Linked DNA regions of Homo sapiens: regions 1, 3 and 4 are each linked to region 2. The links are contacts of gene promoters, found by promoter capture Hi-C in blood cells and fetal thymus (Javierre and others, 2016). All regions are on one chromosome and are shown on one strand. Each heading gives the region's core, a stretch centred on a gene start or on the middle of the fragment in contact. The rest is flanking DNA. Distances are from core to core; before and after follow the strand shown. Region 1 overlaps R3HDM4 (R3H domain containing 4). Region 2 holds the start of MIDN (midnolin). Region 3 overlaps MISP (mitotic spindle positioning). Region 4 holds the start of PRTN3 (proteinase 3).

Region 1 (4,338 bases), core at 1,806-4,305, 350 kb after region 2:
CCTCACCTTCCCAAAGCTCTGGGATTACAGGCATGAGCCACCGCGCCCAGCTTGCCTCGAGTGAATCTTGTCTCAACTGGCCTAGAGTTTCCTAGCGTTTTCCAGTCTTTTGGGGGTTGCAGGGGTGGAGTGGGTTGCTTTTAATTTTTGTGTTGGGAACTCTGGATGCTATTAGGGATTTTCGACTGTGGGCTCTCTTGGAATCACAGAATTTTTATTGAGGATTGATTTGGTGGTTATTTTTCTGAGCGTCTCCTGTGAACGAGGCTTGGCTGTGAGTGCCGGCGGTGGGGGTTACAGCCAGCCAGCAAACCCGAGCCGCCTGTGCGAAGGTCCGAGGCGGGACGGGAAATCGTGTCTTGGAAGCAGCAGCGGCCAGGAGGTGCCACTGTGGGGTTGGAGCAGAATGTGTTTCAGGTGGGGTGGAGTTAGGAGATAAGGGTGGAGCCGATCCTGGTACCCCCAGACCCTGGAGGCCATGGTCAGCCCTGTGGTGTGGGGGTTTGTGAGCCCAGTGGAGCTAGCATTACGGTTTTTTGTTTGTTTGGCTTTTGAGACAGAGTCTCGCTCTGTCGTCCAGGCTGGAGCGCAGTGGCACGATCTCGGCTCACTGCAAGCTCTGCCTCCCCGGTTCACACCATTCTCCTGCCTCAGCCTCCCGAGTAGCTGGGATTACAGGTGCCCACCACCACGCCCGGCTAATTTTTTTGTATTTTTAGTGGAGACGGGGTTTCACCGTGTTAGCCGGGATGGTCTCAATCTCCTGACCTCATGATCCGCCCGCCTCGGCCTCCCAAAGTGCTGGGATGACAGGCGTGAGCCACCGCGCCCGTCCTGTTTGTTTTGAGACACGGTCTTGCTCTTGTTGTCCAGGCTGGAGCGCGCGGTATTGCAGTCACAGCTCACCGCAGCCTCAAACTCCCCAGGCTCAAGGGATCCACCCACCTTGGGCTCCCAAAGTGCTGGGATTACATGAGCTCCCACGCCCAGTTTGTGTGGTTTTTCCTTGCCAGAAAAGTCCCCATCCATGAGGCCCCCCCTCACCGGCCCGCTTCCCAGGTGCCGGGTGGCTGCGGTGCGCGCCTACCTCCCCCCAAACGCCGCCCGCTTCCCGGGTGCCCGGTGGCTGCGGTGCGCGCTTACCCCCACCCTGTCCAACCACCCGCTTCCCAGGCGGCTGCCTATTCCCCCCACACTGAGTGGCTCGGCCCTTGGATTCTCGGTGGGAGGCCCAGCTGTGACAGCTAATCCATCTCCACAATTAATGCCATTTGCTCCGGCCAGGCCGATTAGCTCTGGAGGGGGGCCGCTGCAGCCGCACTCTCCTCCTGGCCCTGGGGACAGGGGACATTAAGGGGGGGGTTTGCGGGGGGGGCTGAGGCATCACCTTGAGCTTCTGGGGCTGTTTTCTGGCTCCTCTGCTGCTGGGAGTGGGGGATGTGGATAAAATCAAGTTTCTTGACTCTCCATTTCTGAAGGAAGCTGTTCACGTCCCAAAGGCTGTGGGCCTTGCTGGCTTACAGCTAACACCTTGAACACTGGGGTTGGGGGTGGGCGGCAGCTTTTCTTGGTCATTCACCTGCTGTGTGACTTTGGGCAAGTGTCTTCACTTCTCTGAGCCTCGGTTTACTAATCTATCATCACAGTTTTTTGTTTTTTTTTGAGACAAGGTCTCACTCCGTCGCCCAGGCTGGAGTGCGGTGGCACAATCTCAGCTCACTGGAGCATCTGCCTCCCGGGTTCAAGCGATTCTCTCACTTCAGCCTCCTGAGTAAGCTGAGATTACAGGCGCACGCCACCACGCCTGATTAATTTTTGTATTTTTTTTGGTAGAGACAGGGTTTCACCCTGTTGGCCAGGCTGGTCTTCAACCCCTGACCTCAAGTGATCCACCCACCTTGGCCTCCCAACGTGCTGGGATTACAGGCATGAATCAATGTGCCTGACCTAATTTTTTTTATTTTTTTTGGACACAGTCTTGCTCTGTTGCCCAGGCTGGAGTGCAGTGGTGCCATCATGCCAACCTCGACCTCCTGGACTTAAGTGATCCTCCTGCCTCAGGCCCCTGAGTAGCTGGGACTACAGGCATGTACCAGCACACCGGTTAATTTTTTAATTATTATTTTTTTTTGTAGAGACAAAAAAATAAGTCTTTTTTTTTTTTCATAGTCTTGCTATGTTGCTCAGGCTGGTCTTGAACCCCTGAGCTCAAGTGATCCACCGGCCTCAGCCTCCCACAATGCTGGGATCACCGGCATGAGCCACCACACCCAGCCCGTCTTCACAATTGTATCTGCTTCCTGTGATGTGAGGATGAAACAAAATAGGATTTTAAGGGCCCAGGACTTCACACACCGTAGGGGTGAGCTCTCCATTGCTGGGGGAAACCAAGCGGGCCATGGCTGTGGTAGGGCCCTTCTCGGAGATCCTGGCCGGCCTTGACCCTGAGGACCACCCCTGCCCCGGCCCACAGGCCCCTTCCCAGCTGCCTGCCTGCCCTAGCCAGCTCCCAGGTGAAGAGACTCTCGGCTTCCAGGCGGAAACAGCACTTCATCAACCAGGCAGTGCGGAACTCAGACCTCGTGCCCAAGGCCAAGGGGCGGAAGAGCCTCCAGCGCCTGGAGAACAGTGAGCAGGGGTCGGGAGGCGCCTCCTGGGGGCTCCTGGGCCTTGTAGAATGGCATGCATATTGGTGTTATCTGTTACCCCTCCCATGAGCTGTGCCTGGGTGGGGCTGGGGACCCAAAGAGGTGTCAGCTGTAGGCCGGGGGACCATATAAATAGAGCCAGACACAGGCGCCCCCTGGACTCTTGGATCAGGGCTGGGTGGGAGGGCGCCCCGGGCATTGGAGCTGGGGCTTTAAAGGATATATAGGAGTTCGACAATCCAGAACCTGGGGTCTAGGTGGTCTCTGTACCTTCTGGGGAAGACAGTTGGAGCATGGAGGTGCGGAGGTTGAGATGATAAAAAAGGAGGAAGGCTAGTTCTTGGGTCCCCATGGTGCCTGGGGGTCCCCAAATGCCACCCCGGCCCAGAGAGCATCTGTTTCCACCTAGCCCAGTACCTCCTGACCCTGCTGGAGACAGACGGGGGCCTGCCTGGCCTGGAGGATGGGGACTTGGCACCCCCTGCATCACCAGGCATCTTTGCCGAGGCCTGCAACAACGCCACCTATGTGGAGGTGTGGCCCCCAACCCCCTCACTCCCTCCACACGGGGACCCCGGCAGTTCTCCTACGGCCAGGCCATCGCCTGTGCCCGTCCCCCGCCAGAAGCACCCGCCCACTTCTGATCTCCTAATGAAGGCCCCTCAGTCTCCTTCGGGGTCCCCAGACCAGGCCAGAATCCCCACCCCACCCCTGGAACCTTCGAGCTCCTGGATTCACCTGCCCAACACGTTTGGGAACCCTCCAACGATTGCAGGAGTGTTTCACCTCAATCCCCCCCACCCCGAGACAGCTGGGCCCACCCCGGTTCCCCGCTTCCCTGCGCTCAGCTCAGGGCCCGACACAAGCAGCGGCCCCTCAGTGGACAGAGGTGACCGCAGGAGCGCGTCCACGTGCTTGGCGGCCTTACCGTGCCCATTTGCCCGGGGATGTCAGCGCAGCCCCAGTGTTTCATGGCAAGCCTGCCTCCCTGCCTCTCTTCCAGGTCTGGAACGATTTCATGAACCGCTCCGGGGAGGAGCAGGAGCGGGTTCTTCGCTACCTGGAGGATGAGGGCAGGAGCAAGGCGCGGAGGAGGGGCCCTGGCCGTGGGGAGGACCGGAGGAGAGGTGCGGGCCTGGCTGGGGCGGGTATGGGTGGGGCCAGGGTATGGATGGGGGCGTGGCCTGGGGTGGGTGGGGCCGGGATGGGGGGGCAGGATATGGATGGGGTGTGGGCGGGACCTGGAGTGGGTTGGACCTAGTATGTTGGGCCCAGGTATGGATGGGGGATGGGGGCGAGGCCTGGGGTGGGTGGGGCCGCGATGGGGGGCAGGATATGGATGGGGTGTGGGCGGGACCTGGAGTGGGTTGGACCTAGTGTGTGGGTGAGGCCAGGGTATGGATGGGGACAGGGCAATGGGGTGTGTGGGGCCAGGATGGGGTAGGTAGGATATGGATGGGGCGGGACATGGAGTGGATGTGGCCAGCATGTGGGGGCAGGATCTGGATGGCAGTGGGTAGGGGTGGGGCTAGCTGGCTTGTGTGGGCCTGGAGTGGGTGGGGCCTCATGTCTAGCTGGGGTGAACATACAGGTGAGGGTAGGGTCAGCTGGATGGGTTGGGGTCAGGGCCTCGTGGGGGTAGGGTCTGCTGGCTGGATGGGGCCACAGTATCGTTGAAGGTGTGGTTTGG
Region 2 (6,571 bases), core at 267-2,766:
CTCCGGCTCCTGGGGGCGCCTTCCGGGGGTGGGGACGGCACTTGCTTCTCCTTCAAAGGGCGGCGGGCGCGACCGGGACGCGGCGCGGTTAAGGGTCCTGGGGAGGGGGCGCCGCTCGGCTGGTGGCGCTGGGTGCCGTCTGCCGCCCGGGTCGCGCTTCCTCGCGCGTCCCCTCCCTTAGCAACAGCCGTCGCCGCCGCTCGGAGGATCTGGGGGTGAAAGTAACAAGAAAAAAAAGTTATAATGTATCAACGTTCCAGGGGGCGGGGCCGCCGCCCCCTCCCATTCACTACTTACTCCGCCGGCCGGGCGCCGGCCAATCGCCGCGCGCCGAGCGCCCAGTCGGCCGCGAGCCCGGGCCTATGAGAGCCGCCGCGGCACCGCCCCACGTGGCAGCCGGGCCCGCCCCCTCGCCCCGCCCCCAGCGCCCAGGCGACCAAGGGGAGCGCAGCGGGGGCGGGGCTGGCGCCTCTCCGCGCCCGCCCCCGCCCCGCCCGCGCCCGCAGCCATTCATAAGCGCCCGGAGCCCGCAACAAAGGGCGGGCGCGCCCCGGGGGGCGCGGGACCCAGGTCTGGAGACGGGTCTGGTACCCCTCGCGATCCCAAGGGAGCGGCCGGGAGCGGGAGGGGGCGCGGGCCATTGTTCCCGGCGCCGGGAGGGGCAGGAAGTCGTGGGGCCACCCCGCCGCCTTCGTCCGGGAAAAGCCGCGAGCGGAAGCGGGAGCGCGAAGTCCGCGCCTCGTGGCCGGGGTCCCGGGGCGGGCGGGCGACGGTGAGGCTAGGGCCGCGGCCCCGGGGAGGGCGTGGTGCGTGGGGGCGGAGTTGTGGCCGGGGCGGGGCGCCCGCACCTCGGTGACGTGGCCGGGTGGCTGCCGCCGGGGGCCCCGCGCGCCCACCCGCCGGCCGCGGGCAGAACCCGTTTCCCCGAGGCGCGCCCGCTCGAGCCGTGACGTGACGCGGCGTCCCCGGCTGCGCCCGCGCGCGCTCGGGGATGCGGTGAGTCAGCAGCTCGGGCGCGCCCTCTGCCGGGCCCGCCTGGGAGCGCCGCCCGGAGTCCCGGGGAGGGGGCGCCGCGCTGCCCCTGGCAGGGGAGGAAGACGACTGGGCTGCGCGCGGGGGAGGAACCCCGATCGGGAACGAAAGACTGTAGTCGGGAGACTGGGACCGTGTGGCTGGGCAACGGAGGGCGGAACGGCAACCAGTTCAAGGTCACCCGCGGTGAAGGGGGAGTGCCCCGGGGGGCGGGGCGGGGGCTGAGGTCCGGCCAGGGCGGCGCTGGCTGCGCGGAGCCCCTCCCACCCCGCACCCCGGGGGGCTTCCCAGGACCGGAGGCTCCCCGATCCCTCCTGTCCCAAGAACAAAGAAAAGTGCGGGCATCCTGAGCCATCTAGAGTGGGCACCCTTCCTCGGCCCGCAGGTCCCCCCCCTCCACACTCACCGGGCGCGGCCGGTTCTGCGCTCCAAGTGCTGCGAGTACCTTCGTCCGGGGCCGAATGCGCGCTGGCCGGGCCGGTCTGGGCCAAGCGCGCGGCCCTCAGCCTTTATCCGCGCCGCCTTCCCTCGGGGTGGAGTTAGGGCGGGCAGGGGGGCGGGGGGCCGGGCGGGCGGTGACGCAGACTGGCCCCCGCCCCTGCCTGCCGGCCCTGGCCCTGGGGCGCCTTGACGGCTGGGCCACCCGGGACCCAGGCTTGGCGCAGTTCATGGGGGGACTCCCCTTGAATGCCCCGAGCCAAGGGTCTCGGCCCGCCTCGCCGCGGGCTGAGATGCACCCCGAATCGTCAGCGGGACAGGGTTTTGGGGTGTACAGCGCGACTCGCTGCCCCGCCCCCTTCCTGTCGCCCCAGGCCCGGTGCTTCCGCCTGGGGGCGCCCGCGTGGGGGGGACGGGAAGAGGGGCCTGAGTCAGCGGCTGTCGTCCAGGAAAACAGGCTGGAGTCACCTGCCGTAGAGTGGGGGTGCCCTGGCCAGCCCTGGCCTCCTGCATCTGTCAATGGTGACCTCAGAGGGCATTTATGGAGCGATTAGCCAGTGCCAGGCCTGCCTTGTGCCCAGCCAGTCACCAGCCGGCTATGCTGTGACCCCGGGAGGTAACTGGCCTCTCCAAGCCTCAGTTTCTCCAGGGTGGGTGGGAGTGTGGTGAGGGGATGCGGCAGGATCACTTTGGGGCCATCACCCCCCATTAATGCAGGACATGCACTGGTTCCCAGCCTTTGGGGTGGGCATTACCCCATTTTACAGATGAAGAAACTGAGGCCACAGCCAATGAGACACGAATGTGGTGTGCATCTCACCCTTCCCCGTCGGCTTTTTGAGGATGGTCCTGGTTGAGGTGGGCCCCGTCCTGCCCCTCTATTTAGAGAAGGGGACCCCATTCCTACGGGAGCACCTCCTGTCCACTCATCTGGCCCCTCCCTTTATCTGGCCTGACCACCTCCACCCCCACCCTGGCCATGGGCGCCCCTCCCAGGGCTGCGCTCCTCCCCAGGTCTCCTTCCGGCTGCCACCCATGCTCCCGGCAGCCGTGGCCCCCACCTTGACAGGCACACCCAGCCCCGAAGGGTCAGGGCTAGGCCAGAGAGGGAGAGGCTGGGATAACCCTTGGAAGGGGGTCACAGGGGCTGCGGTTTGAGGAATGACTAGGAGTTTGTCACATAAAAAAGATGATGCGGTCGGGCGCGGTGGCTCACGCCTGTAATCCCAGCACTTTGGGAGGCCGAGGCGGGCGGATCACAAGGTCAAGAGATTGAGACCAGCCTGGCCAACATGGTGAAACCCTGTCTCTACTAAAAATACAAAAATTAGCTGGGCATGGTGGCATGTGTCTGTAGTCCCAGCTACTCAGGAGGCTGAGGCAGGAGAATCGCTTGAACGCGGGAGGCGGAGGTTACAATAAACCCAGATCGTGCCAGGGCACTCCAGCCTGAGCGACAAAACGAGATTCCGTCTCAAAAAAAAAAAAAAAAAAAAAAAAGGCCGGGCGCGGTGGCTCATGCCTGTAATCCTGGCACTTTGGGAGGCCGAGGCGGGCGGATCACGAGGTCAGGAGTTCGAGACCAGCCTGATCAACATGGTGAAACCCTGTCTGTACTAAAAACACAAAAATTAGCCAGGCGTGGTGATGTGCGCCTGTAATCTCAGCTACTTGGGAGGCTGAGGCGGGAGCATTGCTCGAACCCGGGAGACGGAGATTGTGGTGAGCTGAGATTGTGCCATTGCACTCCAGCCTGGGCAATAAGAGCGAAACTCCTCTCAAAAAAAAAAAAAAAAAAAAAAAAAAAAGACGATGGTCCAGGAAGTGGGAATGGCTTGAGCAGTTCTGGGAGCTTAGTGAACTGGACCCAGTTGGAGGGAGGAGGGGCAGGGTCGATGAATGGGGCTTGGATGAAGGGCTGGGGCCCCAGGTGGGAACTACAGGGCCAGGCTCATTCTGCTTCCAGTGAGAACAAAGGTGGCGGAGGGAGCCGTGGACTGGTGCCAAATGAGCAGCCCAAGCAGGACACTGGGGCCCCCTGTGAGTGGCCAGCAGCCCCCACCTCCCTCCCTGCCTCTTGCCTCTCGTGTGTGGCTCTGCCACCTGCACACCGTCACCTCAGTCTGGTCGGGAGTGGAATGGACACCGTCACCTCAGTCTGGTCGGGAGTGGAATGGACACCGTCACCTCAGTCTGGTCGGGAGTGGAATGGACACCATCACCTCAGTCTGGTCGGGAGTGGAATGGGACACGGGTTGTCGGAACTTGCTGGGCTTCACAGGGGCCACTGTGTGGCCCTTTGGGGACCAGATGCCCAGAGCCAGTCTAAATGAATAAACATGCTAAAACGCTTCCCCACCATTTCCCATACTCGGCGTCCCCATGGTTGAGTGGGTTGTTCCTGGGTGTGATGGGGACAAACCCTGTGCTCTGTTCTGCCTCACTAAGCCAGGGGCTGCCCTCACTGAAGGGCCTTGACCGCCTGGTTCCCGGCCCCACCCTGACTGCCTCCTGCTCCAGGACGCATCCAGCCAGCACGGGCTGTTCCCTCCGAGTGTCAGGTGTCTCGGGTGTCCTGAGGCCTGGCTCCAAGGTTCACACCCTCCCTGGTGGTGGGGGCAGGGGAGGTCCCCGGAGTGAGCAGCTCCTCCCGCTGGGCCCCTGCTAAGTCCCAGCTGTGCCCTTGGTCTTATTTATAGGGTCCTGGTGGCCTGGCAGGAACTTGAAGACCTGGGGCTGGAACTGGGGGCGGGGGGGAGGGGGGGCCTGGGCAGAGGCTGCTCCTGTGGCCTGGTGGCTGACACAACCTTCCCTGGGCTGCGGATTCCTGGAGAAGTGGGGGCCTGGTCACTCGTGTCCCGAGGCCCAAGTGGAGGGGGAGCCAGGCAGGGGACCGTGGGCTGTTCCAGAATACCTGATCTGCTGACCGGCGGCCTCAGAGTCGCAAGGCCCCCAACGGCACCTCGCCTCAAGTGAAGCTGTGGCAAGTCACCCGCATAGTGCCATGACGTGGGAGTGAGCTGCCCGTCCGTGCTGACAGGCCCGGGGCGGCCTCTCTGTCACCATCCCAGCTCCAGTGACACAGGCAGGCCCACCCTCCCCACTCACCCCCCTGGAATTCCCTGCCTACCCCACTGCACAGGGCCCTGTCCCAAGGAAGGGAGGAGGTCAGGAGACCCCAGCCCCCGCCGTCCACACACCAGCTGGAGCCAGTGTTGCCCGCCCCCAGGGTTATGGAAAGGAGAAGAGGCAGGCCCAACGGGGCAGTGCCAGGGAGCCGCCCCCTCCTGGGCCCACCCCACTCCATCTGGGGCCAACCCAGAAGCCTAGGTGCCCACGGAGGTGCCAAAAACACTGCAGATTCGGCACCCGGCCAGGCAGGGCCACCCACAGGACCGGCTGGCACAGGGCGGGGCCAGCGTGGGAGCGGGTGGGGCCCGCCTCTTTCCAGAGGCTGGTGGGCAGGGCCAAGGGCCAGCAGGGCTCAGGGTCAAGGCCTGGAGACCAGGAACTCGGCAGAGGCGCCAGGAGCAGCAGGGACACCCCTCCCTGACCGATGTCCCCATCACTGGTGACCTTCACCCTCCCCACCGTTGTAGGGTGAAGGTCAGCAGCCTGCCCGCCTGGCTGCACCCCACCCACCCCCTCGAGCCTGCTTCCTACGGACCTCCAGGTGCCCTAAGGGACATAGTCCAGGGGAGCTCAAAGGCCCTATTTGCAAGGGACATGGAGGACGTGAGCAGGGGCCCAGGACGCTCCCGGCTTCACCGGGCCAGGTGGAGGAACAAGAGCCGAGCACACAGTCAGGCTTCCGGGTCTTTAATGGGGCGGGGGCTGGGGGCAGTTCATCCAGAGGTGGCTCCGAAGCTGAGGTCAACCTTGGCGGCTGGCTCTGCAGGGCAGAGGGGATGGTAAGCGGCCCGTCAGGCTGGGGGGATCTTGAGAGGCGGAAGGAGAGCCCCATGGGTGGCAGCCACAGCTCAAAGCTGAGGAGGAGCTTCCCTGGCCCAGTCCCCAGAGCTTTCAACACAGGCAGGGCCTGGGGCCCAGGCAGAAGCCTGCACTGCCCTCTGGTGGCCTCCTTGGCAGGCGCGGCTTCCCCAGGTGGCCGGGACCCCAGGAGCTGGCTGGGCCCACCTGGCATCCCTGCCCAGCCCCTGGCCGGGCCTCGGGACACCGGGTACGCACCGCCTACTCCAGGGCCTTCACCAGGGCCTCGTTGGCCTCGATTCGGATCTGGATCTCTGCCCGCGTGGCCTCGTCAGCTGTCCCCACCAGCTCCGCCTGGGCCTTCTCCAAGTTTGCCTTGGCTGCCTGCAAGGGGTTGAGGGGCGGTGAGGGGCCAGCAGCGACCCCAGCCCGGCTCCTGGTCCCCCAGCGCTCCCTCCCCCGCAGCCTGGACAGCTCCAACCTGCTGAGCCTCAGGTCCCCTCTGACACTCACCCCCAGGTCCAACATGTCCAGCGTCACGGCCTCTTCGGCCAACAACTGCACCGAAGAGTCGGCGTTCACTGCGATGGAACCGCTGCTCACTGGGGGAATGGGGCGGGGGGAAGGCGTGAGACCCCAAAGGGCTGCACAGCCTCAGGGACTCCCCTGGTCAAGTCCAGAGCCCCCTGTGAACCAGGAGCTCCACAAACATCCAAGTCTGTGTCCTGAGTGTGCAAACAGACCCACAGGACTGGCCCTGGGCCCAACATGGCGGGCAACTGCTAGAGAAGAACAAAACAGGGGCCGCAAGAAAGGACTAGAAGCTGGAGGAACCCCCAAAAGCACTGCCTGGGGACAGAGGCCCTCCCTCTGACCCACCACCCATGGGTTGAGCTGGGGTCAGGGCCAAAGGCAAGCTGAGTTCAAATCTGGCCACCACTGGAAACCAGTGAGGCTTAGAACTGCTTTTTTTCCTGCACAAATGACCTTCCTCCCCTAATCTGATCAGCCCTCCCAACATGGTTTTTTGAGGGGTTTTTTTGGCACAGGGTCTCACTCTTGTTGCTCAGGCTGAAGTGCAGTGGCATGATCTTGGCTCACTGCAGCCTTGACTTCCCCGGCTGAAGCGGTCCTCTTGCTTCAGCCTCCCGAGTAGCTGGGACTACAGGTG
Region 3 (3,908 bases), core at 1,409-3,908, 490 kb after region 2:
GCCCTCTCTGTCACCATTTGGGGAAGAGTGGAAGGCATCCCCTGCCCTGAGTGTTCTCAACACGTGTCCCACGATCACCCAGACTCACAGCCATCCCCCTTGCTGTTCCTCATGCTGTTCCCCTCAGTGCAGCCTCTGTCCAACATTCATGATTTATTTAATTTAATTAATTAATTTATTTATTTATATTGGGTCTGAGTCTTGCTCTATCACCCAGGCTGGAGTGCGGTGGTGCGATCTCGGCTCACTGCAACCTCCACCTCCCGGATGGAGCCTCCCTAGCAGCCTCCCTTTAGCCAGGAGTGGTGGCACGTACCTGTAATTCCAGCTACACGGGAGGCCGAGGCAGGAGAATCGCTTGAACCCGGGAGGCAGAGGTTGCAGTGAGCCAAGATCGTGCCACTGCACTCCAGCCTGGGTGACAGAGCGAGACTCCATCTCAAAAAAAAAAAAAAAAAAAAAAGGACATAATATTCCTCATGGCACTAAATATTCCTCGTGTCATTAAAAGTGACGTGAGGAATATTTCATACTGACAAAAGGAGCTCTCATCCAAGAGGATAAACATACATGAACAATTACATGTCTAACAACAAGGCATCAAAATTCATAAAGTAAAACCCCTAAGGCAAAGCTCTGTGGCCTGTAGGTCCTGGAGTCAAGCCTGGGTTCATGAGCTGCCTAACCCTGGGCATGTGAGACCACCAGGGTGCTAAAGGTGTGGTTCATTGGAAGCCCCGAGCCAGCGTGTGACAGACACATCCCTCCGTCTCTCCCTCTCCCTCCCTCCCTTCCTTCCTCGCTTTGTTCCTTCCTTCCCTCCATCCCTCCCTCCCTCCTGCCTTCTCTCTCTCTCTCTCTCTTTCTTAGAAGTAAATATCTGTGGCCAGGTGCAGTGGCTCATGCCTATAATCCCAGCACTTTGGGAGGCCCAAGTGGGCAGGTCACTTGAGATCGGTTTGAGACCAGCCTGGCTAACATGGTGAAACCACGTCTCTACTAAAAATACAAAAAAATTAGCCGGGCGTGGTGGTGCACGCCTGTAATCCCAGCTACTCAGGAGGCTGAGGCAGGAGAATCACTTCAACCCGGGAGGTGGAGGTTGCAGTGAGCCGAGATCGTGCTACTGCACTCCAGCCTGGGCGACAGAGTGAGACTCCGTCTCAAAAAAAAAAAAAAAAAAAGAAACTAATGCTGGTGACGATGACAAATTGCCAGTGTCCTCCTCCTCCAAGCAGAGTTGGTCCTTTGGTCTTTGATCCTGGAGATGACCTCCTGATGGGGACAAAGACCCCAGCTTATATGGCCTCTCCAAGCAGAAGCCCAGAGATACAAGGACACCAAGTTTATCATCTTCTACCTGACATCTGCAGGAGACTGAGGCACGGCCAGGGGTGGGGGTAGTGCTTGAACCCAGGTCAGGCTTGAGTCCTGCTTGAACTTCCTGTGGCCCTAATAGGGGCTGTCTGACCTCAGCCTGGCCTCTGCAGAGACGGGTTCCAGACTCACCCATTGCTCCTTCTTTCTCTGCCCGGGAGGAGCACTGTCCACTGGATCTTCCACTGTCCACGCCACGTTTGAGTGTAGGTGGATGGGGCTGAAGAAGGGAGACTCAGACACCGAGTAACTGCCCGTGATGCCTGTAGGGGAGCAGGGAGGGCAGAACATTAGAACATTTGTCAGACCTCTGCTCGGGAGACAGAGTCTCTAGCCAGCAGCTAAGGAGACAGATGTATGGACAGACAGAGCAGATGACTATCCGGGAAACTGACAGATTGACCAAAGTAGCCAGTCAGGAGAAACTGGATGCACAGATGGGCCGACATGCAAGGTGAAGAACATTAAAAGTGGCCGGGCGCGGTGGCTCACGCCTGTAATCCCAGCACTTTGGGAGGCCGAGGTGGGTGGATCACGAGGTCAGGAGATCGAGACCGTCCTGGCTAACACGGTGAAACCCCATCTCTACTAAAAATACAAAAAAATTAGCCAGGCGTGGAGGCAGGCGCCTGTAGTCCCAGCTACTCAGGAGGCTGAGGCGAGAGAATGGCGTGAACCCGGGAGGCGGAGCTTGCAGTGAGCCGAGATCGCGCCACTGCACTCCAGCCTGGGTGACAGAGCGAGACTCCATCTCAAAAAAAAAAAAAAAAAACATTAAAAGTGACACAAGGAATATTTCATATTGTCAAAAAGGTGCAACTGTCCAAGAGGATAAACATATATGAACAGGCCGGGAGCAGTGGCTCATGCTTGTAATCCCAGCACTTTGGGAGGCCAAGGCAGGGTGGATCGCCTGAGGTCAGGAGTTCAAGACCAGCCTGGCCAACATGATGAAACCTGTCTCTACTAAAAATACAAAAATTAGCCGGGAGTGGTGGTGGGCACCTGTAATCCCAGCTACTCAGGAGGCTGAGGCAGGAGAATCGCTTGAACCCAGGAGGTGGAGGTTACAGTGAGTTGAGATCCTGCCACTGCACTCCAGCCTGGGCGACAGAGCGAGACTCCGTCTCAAAAAAGAAAACCGAAAAACAAAAAACAAAAACAAAAACAAAACACACAAAACATATATGAACATTTATGCGCCTAACAACAAGGCATCCAAATCCATAAAGCAAAAGCCCTAAGGTAAAGTTGACATTTCTCTCCAAAATCTACATTTTTAATAGACAGGCAGACAAACCAGCGACTGAGGGGATGAACAGTCAGGAGGCAATGTCTCCCCAACCCCAGCCCTTTGACAGCCTCAAACTCCACCTCCCCACCCTCCCCTGCTCCAACCTCTGAGACCCTGAGCCAAGCAGCCACTCCCTGGAGCCCCTTCTCACCGGATGCCTGGGAGGAGCTCCTGGAGTTCTGGTCAGAGTTCTCATCTGGCGTTGGGGAGAAGACCTCTGGGAAGAGAGCATTTCTCCGCTCCTCTGCCACCTCTTGCTCCCGGCGCAGGACACTCTCCCTCTCCCTTTCCAGCAGATCAGATGACTGGGACTTCTGCAGCCTCAGTGCAGGGGCCCCAGCCACCTCCCAGCCCCAGACATGGGGGACTTGGGCCTGCTGGGGCTCGTCTGGGGCCCTGAACCGCAGAGGACGCAGGCGGAAGTACTCCCACCGCACGACACCCCTGTTGGCTTGCGGGCATCCCCGAGGGGGCTTCGATGCCTCTTGCTTTGTGCTCAGGGGTTTTCCAGAGGATTCTGAGAGATGCCTCGGGGACATCGTGGCCTTTGGTGAAGTCGCAGCCTTGGCCTCCGCTGTGGAGAGACTGCTGGGCTTGCCGAATGCTCCGAAGGCTGAGAATTCTAGCTGGGGGGTCCCGGGGCTCAGGTACGGCTGGTAGGCATCAGGTGGGATGCGGTTCACCTTCCTCACTTCTGGAGCTGGGTCGGCCGCACGGGCATCTGGGGCCGGGCTGAGGATGGAATCTGAGCTGAGGGCTCTCCGGAGTCCGGGCTGGGGACCCTCCGAGACCCAGTCGGGTGTGGACGCCCGGCCCACGTGCAGGCCCTCCCGCCGGTGGTCTTCCTCACGCTGTGTCTCCTGTACTATGTCCCGCTGCACGTAGAGGGACGGGCGCCCTCTCTCCCGCCGTGGGGCTGTGATCAGGCTCAGCTTGGTCAGCAGCGGCCTGGTGGGGATTTCCACCAGCTCCTGGTGGTCGGTTGCCTGCCGAAGCCCCCTCTGCTCTCGCAGGTCTGCCTCACGCTCCTGAGCCAGACGGATCTCCCGCTCGATGGGCGTCTCCTTGGGGGTCCCCGGGGACTCCACTGAGGCCAAGGAGCCAGGGTCATCCACAACTTGGACACTGGCCCAGGTGGGCACAGCACGCACCTTGTTCTCTTCCCTGACCACCCCCTTCACCTGGGGCTTGATGGGAACCACGTGCCCGTTGGCCAGGTGGGGCTTGTTGAAGGCCT
Region 4 (6,540 bases), core at 3,034-5,533, 410 kb after region 2:
CATGCCCGGTTGATTTTTAAATTTTTCTTTTGTAGGCTGGACGCGGTGGCTCTCTCCTATAATCCCAGCACTTTGGGAGGCTGAGGAGAGCAGATCACTTGAGGTCAGGAGTTCGAGACCAGCCTGGCCAACGTGGCAAAACACCGTCTCTACTAAAAATACAAAAATTAGCCAAGCGTGTTGGTGCATGCCTGTAATCCCAGCTACTCAGGAGGCTGAGGCAGGAGAATTACTTGAACCTGGAAGGCAGAGGTGGCAGTGAGCCGAGATTGCACCACTGCACTCCAGCCTGGATGACTGAGTGAGACTCTGTCTAAAAAAAAAAAAAAAAAAAATGTCTTTTATAGAGATGGGGTCTCACTAGGTTGGTCAGGCTGCTCCCAAACTCCTGGCCTCAAGTGATCCTCCCATCCCAGCCTCCCAAAGTACTGGGAGTACAGGCGTGAGCCACAGTGCCCAGCCCCAAGCACTTACTGAGCACCACCTGTATGCCCAGTCCCGTTCTAAGCCACATGAGTCCAATAACGAACAACACAGACAAAAATCCTCTGCCCTGGGGAGCTGATCTTTCTGGGTGGGAGGAGGCTAGGAGGGCCCCATGAATGAGAGGAGCACGCGGTTCAGTGGAGAACAGTGAATCGGGGAGGGCTGTGGCTGTCCTCGCCACTTCCAGTGAGGTCAGGGGAGGCGCCGGAGGAGGCGAGGGCACCTGGCTTTCTGGGGGAACAGCACACCGGGCGGAGGCGCAGGCAGGGGAGAGGGGCAGGCAGGGGAGAGGCGCGCAGGGGAGAGGCGCGGGCGGGGGAGAGGCGCGGGCGGGGGAGAGGAGCGGCCGGGGGAGAGGCGCGGGCAGGGGAGAGGCGCGCAGGGGAGAGGCGCGGGCAGGGGAGAGGGGCGGGCAAGGGAGAGGCATGCAGGGGAGAGGCGCGGGCAGGGGAGAGGGGCGGGCAAGGGAGAGGCGCGGGCGGGGGAGAGGCGCGGGCGGGGGAGAGGCGCGGGCGGGGGAGAGGCGCGCAGGGGAGAGGCGCGGGCGGGGGAGAGGCGCGGGCGGGGGAGAGGCGGGGAGGAGGAGTGGCCTGGTGTCCAAGGAGCGGTCTCCCCCGGCCAGTGCCACTGGACCCAGGCTGCAGCGGCCTCGGTCGTGGCCCGGTATACAGTGGGTGCTCAATGAATGCTGGCTGCAGGAATGGGGGTCCCGGAGCCCTCTGGCCGTGCCCCTCCGAGCCCTCGCGGCCCTGCCCGCCCACCTGGATGAGGAGAACGTCGTTCAGTTTGTTCTCCGCGTCGTAGTTGTTCAGAAACACCTGAGCCACCGAGAAGTGCTGCTGGGTGGGCTCCTGCGTCCGCACGTTGTGGGCTCCGAGCACCACGTTCACCAGGCGCTGGGGTCTGCGGGGGTGGGGTGGTCACTCCTCGGCGCCCTGGACACTCGCCGCCGCCCACAGCCGGCCCTTCCCGAGGCCGCGGTGCAGCCCCAGACCCCTCCCTCGGCGACCCTGCCCCGGGCCTCCCCCCAGAACTGCCCACGCGCGCGGGGCCTGGGGTCTGCAGACGGGGCTTAGCTGGGTCCTCCCCGGGCAGAGGGACAGTGGCCGGGCCAGGGCTGGAGGAAGAGGGCGGGGCGGGCGGACAGGGGTGTGGAGGCGGCCGCTCACATGTCCCGCAGGCAGTGCGCGGCCGTCAGCACGAAGCTGGGGTGGATCAAGGTGCCTCCGCAGAAGTGGCTGCCCGGGTTCCCCCGCATCTGCAGGGAGGCCATGTAGGGCCGGGAGTGTGGCTGCGCCTCGTGCCCGCCCACGATCTCCGCAGCTCGGGCAGCACCTGCAGGGGGGGAGTCCAGGCGTCAGGGAGCCCCCAGGCTGCAGGGAAAGGGGGGATGGCAGAGCAGCCCCTGGGCCTCTCCGAGCCTCCGTCTCCCGATCTGCAACCCGGTCAGTGCCTGCTGGCTGGTGGGAAGGACTCAGCGCCCAGGCCGGGGGGGTTATAATTACGACGATTTCCAAAGGCGCCCTGGTGGCAGCTTTCAGTCCTGAGAGTCAGGAAGGCTTTTAAGACGCAGACCAGGTGGCTGGGTGCAGTGGCTCACGCCTGTAATCCCAACACTTTGGGAGGCCGAGGCAGGAGGCTCCCTTGAGCTCAGGAGTTCAAGACCAGCCTGGGCAAAATTGTGAGGACCCCATCTCTACAAAAAATTTTAAAATTAGCCAGGCATGGTGGTGTGCACCTGTCGTCCCAGCTACTTGGGAGGCTGAGGAGGGAGGATCGCTTGAGCCCAGGAGGTCAAGGCTGCAGTGAACTGAGATCACACCACTGCACTCCAGCCTGGGCAACAGAGCAAGACCCTGTCTCTAAAACAAAATTTAAAAAAATGTTTTTAAAGAAGCAGAAAAATTGGTCGGGTGCGGTTGGCCCACGCCTGTAATCCCAATACTTTGGGAGGCCGAGGTGGGTGGATCACCTGAGGTCAAGAGATGGAGACCATCCTGGCCAACATGGTGAAACCCTGTCTCTACTAAAAATACAAACATTAGCTGGGCGTGGTGGCACGTGCCTGTAGTCCCAGCTACTCCGGAGGTTGACGCAGGAGAATCGCTTGAACCCAGGAAGCGGAGGTTGTGGTGAGCCAAGATCGCCCCACTGCACTCCAGCCTGGCAACAGAATGACACTCCGTCTCAAAAAAAAAAAAAAAAAAAATTAGCCAGGTGTGGTGGTTCGCACCTGTAATCTCAGCTGCCTGGGAGGCTGAGGCAGGAGAATCGCTTGAACCCAGGAGGCACAGGTTGCAGTGAGCCGAGATCACACCACTGCACTCCAGCCTGGGCAACAGAGTGAGATTCTGTCTCAAAAAAAAAAAAAAAAAAAAAAAATCCTGGGCGCAGTGGCTCATGCCTGAGTGAGACCCCATCTCAAAAAAACAAAACAAAACAAAATAAAAAAAAAGAAGCAAAAAAAAAAAAAAAAATCAGCCAACAAAGAGACCCATTTTGCAGATGAACAAACTGAGGCATTGAAAATCCCCCTCAGGTCAGGAGTTCGAGACCAGCCTGACCAACGTGGTGAAACCCCATCTCTACTAAAAATACAAAAACTAGCCAGGTGTGGTGGTGTGTGCTTGTAATCCCAGCTACTCAAGAGGCGGAGGCAGGAGAATCATTTGACCCCAGGAGGCTGAGGCTGCAGTAAACTGAGATTGCACCACTGCACTCCAGCCTGGGCGACAGAGCAAGATTCCGTTTCAAAAAAGAAAAAAAAAGGGCCAGGCGCGGTGGCTCACGCCTGTAATCCCAGCACTTTGGGAGGCTGAGGCAGGCGGATCACGAAGTCAGGAGATCGAGACCATCCTGGCTAACACCTTGAAACCCCGTCTCTACAAAAATTACAAAAAATTATCCAGGCATGGTGGTGGGCGCCTGTAGTCCCAGCTACTCGGGAGGCTGAGGCAGGAGAAAGGCGTGAACCCGGGAGGCTGAGCTTGCAGTGAGCCGAGATCGCGCCACTGCACTCCAGCCTGGGCGACAGGGCGAGACTCCGTCTCAAAAAAAAAAAAAAGAAAAAGAAAAAGAAAATCACCCTCAGGATAGGGACCTGAGGGGGCCCATGCTCTCTTCTTCCCCTGATTCCAGCATCACTAACTCCTCGACCCTTTCACTCACTCACTCATTCATTCATTCACTCATTCATTCGTTCACTCATTCACTCATTCACTCATTCATTCACTCATTCACTCATTCATTCACTCACTCATTGATTCATTCACTCATTCATTCGTTCACTCATTCACTCATTCACTCATTCATTCACTCACTCATTGATTCATTCACTCATTCATTTGTTCACTCATTCACTCACTCACTCATTCATTCACTCATTCATTCATTCATGCATATTCACTGAGCATTTGCTGAAGGCTGGGTGCTGTCCAGGAATTCGCCTGTTACTAGCTAATTCCCAAAACAGCTCCTCAGGAGGGAAGGGCTGGGTTTTGCCCGTTTTACAGATAGGCAACTGAGTCAAATGGCCAGGGCTCCCCCTTGCCCTTGTCCTCCCCACCCCTGCAAGCGTTGGTCCCGAGCAGTGAGTGGAGTCTCCCCTGACCCTGCCTCAGTTTCCCCAGCTGTGCCAGAAGGGCTTTGGATGGACCTCGTGGTGGATATTTCCCCACAATCCACCGGGGCCTGGAGGCTGGATGGATGGGCACGTGGCTCACTCACCGCTCAGCAGCAAGGCCAGCAGCACGGACGCCAGGGCAGGGCTGGGGGGCCGGTGAGCCATGGTGGGGTCCAGGGTGCACCCACGGTCAAGCTCCTCTTATAGCCCAATGCCAGAGGCCGTTGAGTTGCCCAATGCCCAGGCTGGGTCCCCACTTCCTCCTTTTGCCTTGGGAGCCTGGGAGTCAGAACGGACTCCGGGGAGGAGGTGGGGGCTTTGGGCTCAAGGTCCCAACCTTTGTGGGGGCGGGGAGGCTGGCTGTCACCCACCCAAGTCGGGGGTCCCTGGCCAGGTGGGCAACATGGCCACAGCCCTCAGAGCAACACATGCCCACGTGCCACCCACAAGGAGACGCCTCCCTGACGAGGTCCCTGTGGCCCCAGCAAAGCCGGCCGTGGCAGGTGTGTCCCGTGGGTGGGTGAGCTGGAAACGGACAGACAGCAGGACGTAGCAGGGGACAGGATGCAGAGCTCGGGAAGGCAGGGCCCCACCACGAGTGCCCTCAGTGCCTCACCTGAGGCCCCAGCGAACATCCTCCTGCCAGTTTTGTCTGGGGGTTTTCTTCCCCCTTTAAGGCCAGGATTCTCAATCAAGAGGTGATTCTGCCCCCAGGGGACCCTGGGCGAGGTCTGAGGACACCTGTGGCTGTCACGAAAGGGGAGCTCCTGGCATGGAGTGGGTGGAGGCCAAGGATGATGCCTAGCACCCTGCAGTGCCCAGGACGGGCCTGCCCCAGAGAAGGATCCAGCCCCGATGTCCACAGGGCCCAGGGGAGAGACCAGTGTTCATTATTTGGGGAAAAAAATGGCCAGGTGCGGTGCCTCACACCTGTAATCCCAGCACTTTGGGAGGCCGAGGCGGGTGGATCGCCTGAGGTCAGGAGTTCAAGACCAGCCTGGCCAACATAGTGAAACCCCATCTCTACTAAAAATACAAAAATTAGCTGCGCGTGTTGGCGGGCGCCTGTAGTCCCAGCTACTCAGGAGGCTGAGGCAGGAGAATCACTTGAGCCTGGGAGGCGAAGGTTGCAGGGAGCCAAGATCGTGCCACTGCACTCCAGCCTGGGCAACAGAGCAAGACTCCATCTCAAAACATAAATAAATAAAAATAAAAAATAAAAAATCCAGTCTGCCCCCTGCTCACACCGGACACCAGAATAAACTCCCGATGGGGCGTACGGCATAAACCCGGGGGACCCCAGCTCCCGGGACTCGCCTCCTCTCTCCCTCCCACTCAGGGTGTGGATTTCAATGTGTGCAGCCTCCTGGGACCTCAGCAGGGCAGAGGATCATGGGACTCAGAGTCTCTTGGGGTCTGTGGAATCCTCTAACCCTGGGGTGATTCTGCCCCCAGGGGTCCCTGTGTGAGGCCTGGAGACATCCGTGGTTGTCACGACTTGGAGGGAGCTCCTGGCAGGGCCCTGCAGTGCCCAGGATGGCCCCGCCGCAGAGACAAATCCAGCCCCCATGTCTGCAGTGCCGGAAACGGGGGAAAGCCGAGGACAGAGGATAAAATTATTTATTTATAACTGAACGGTTTAAACCTACAGTGAAATGGAGAGAAGCACTGAATGAACTTGGAGGCCAAAAAGAAAAAAAGCTTTTTAACGTTTCATTTGGAAAGGATTTCACGCTTACAGAAGTCCAAAGGGTCCAAACTCCCTCCCCGCTCCCCAAACTCCCTCCCCCGGCCTCCCTCCCCCAGCTTCCCTAAATTCTGTCCTCTTGCTCAACCCTCCAGGCTGTGATCGAAGCCAGGGCGCGAAAGTTGATTCCAAATGGCCCCCTCTGCCCCAGCCCCCTGAGTATCACCAGCCACCCTTTGCTGGGTCCTGGGTACACAAGCCACCCATCTTCAGATGTCAGGGTCTCCTCCAGCGGGCGCAGTCCCTCTGCCCTCCCTCAGCCCTTGGGACCATTGAGGAGAGCTGGTGGTCACTCTGCAGAGCGTCCCTCCGTGGGGATGGTCCTGGGTGGCCTCAGGACTCAATGGAGGGAGTCCCGGGCGTGGCGTGTGTCTGTCTCAGGCCCCCCACGTCGAAGCCCATGGCTTCGGCCTGTCTCGTGCTGATGGTAATAACCTTGACCACGTGGTCAGGGCATCTGCCGGTTCCTGCACTGTCCAGTTACTGTTTTCCCCTTTGGATTTTTTTTTTTTTTTGAGACAGAGTCTCGCTCTGTCACCAGGCTGGAGAGCAGTGGTGCGATCTCAGCTCACTGCAATCTCCGCCTCCCGGGTTCAAACAATTCTCCTGCCTCAGCCTCCTGTATAGCTGGGATTATAGACGCCCACCACCACGCCTGGCTAATTTTTTTTTTTTTTTGTATTTT

What was found. The method cuts DNA at HindIII sites, captures the fragments that hold promoters and counts their contacts. A CHiCAGO score of 5 or more calls a contact.
Region 1: a fragment that was not itself captured here is called in contact with the fragment with the promoter of MIDN in region 2 in 2 of 17 cell types (monocytes and activated CD4 T cells); the score reaches 10.0 in monocytes.
Region 3: a contact is called between a fragment that was not itself captured here and the fragment with the promoter of MIDN in region 2, in 2 of 17 cell types (monocytes and activated CD4 T cells). The highest score is 5.9, in monocytes.
Region 4: the fragment with the promoter of PRTN3 here is called in contact with the fragment with the promoter of MIDN in region 2 in 2 of 17 cell types (naive CD8 T cells and monocytes); the score reaches 5.1 in naive CD8 T cells.

What each region holds. Positions count from the first base shown.
Region 1 is chr19:900,266-904,603 of GRCh38, reverse strand. R3HDM4 (R3H domain containing 4) reads left to right here. Exons shown (of 8, transcript NM_138774.4): 2 at 2,474-2,628; 3 at 3,058-3,182; 4 at 3,652-3,775. Among named protein-coding and RNA genes, the nearest start is that of RNU6-9, 9.0 kb to the right of the region's middle. RefSeq lists an enhancer at 1-545. The HindIII fragment of the contact is 8,648 bases long and covers 1-4,338 here.
Region 2 is chr19:1,243,528-1,250,098 of GRCh38, reverse strand. MIDN (midnolin) reads right to left here and starts at 1,516. Exons shown (of 9, transcript NM_001388306.1): 1 at 1,439-1,516; 2 at 1-209. LOC102723811 (a long non-coding RNA gene) reads left to right here and starts at 2,027. Exons shown (of 2, transcript XR_007067082.1): 1 at 2,027-2,086; 2 at 2,238-3,831. It overlaps ATP5F1D (ATP synthase F1 subunit delta), which reads right to left. Exons shown (of 4, transcript NM_001687.5): 3 at 5,914-6,002; 4 at 5,274-5,784. The coding sequence ends at 5,662. RefSeq lists silencers at 3-52, 293-762, 793-912, 973-1,432, 1,523-2,062 and 2 more and enhancers at 906-1,439, 3,375-4,120, 5,252-5,411. The HindIII fragment of the contact is 31,339 bases long and covers 1-6,571 here.
Region 3 is chr19:757,641-761,548 of GRCh38, reverse strand. MISP (mitotic spindle positioning) reads right to left here. Exons shown (of 5, transcript NM_173481.4): 2 at 2,823-3,908; 3 at 1,510-1,640. Among named protein-coding and RNA genes, the nearest start is that of MISP, 8.5 kb to the right of the region's middle. The HindIII fragment of the contact is 9,837 bases long and covers 1-3,908 here.
Region 4 is chr19:838,742-845,281 of GRCh38, reverse strand. PRTN3 (proteinase 3) reads right to left here and starts at 4,283. Exons shown (of 5, transcript NM_002777.4): 1 at 4,213-4,283; 2 at 1,656-1,821; 3 at 1,248-1,389. The coding sequence starts at 4,273. The HindIII fragment of the contact is 23,301 bases long and covers 1-5,811 here.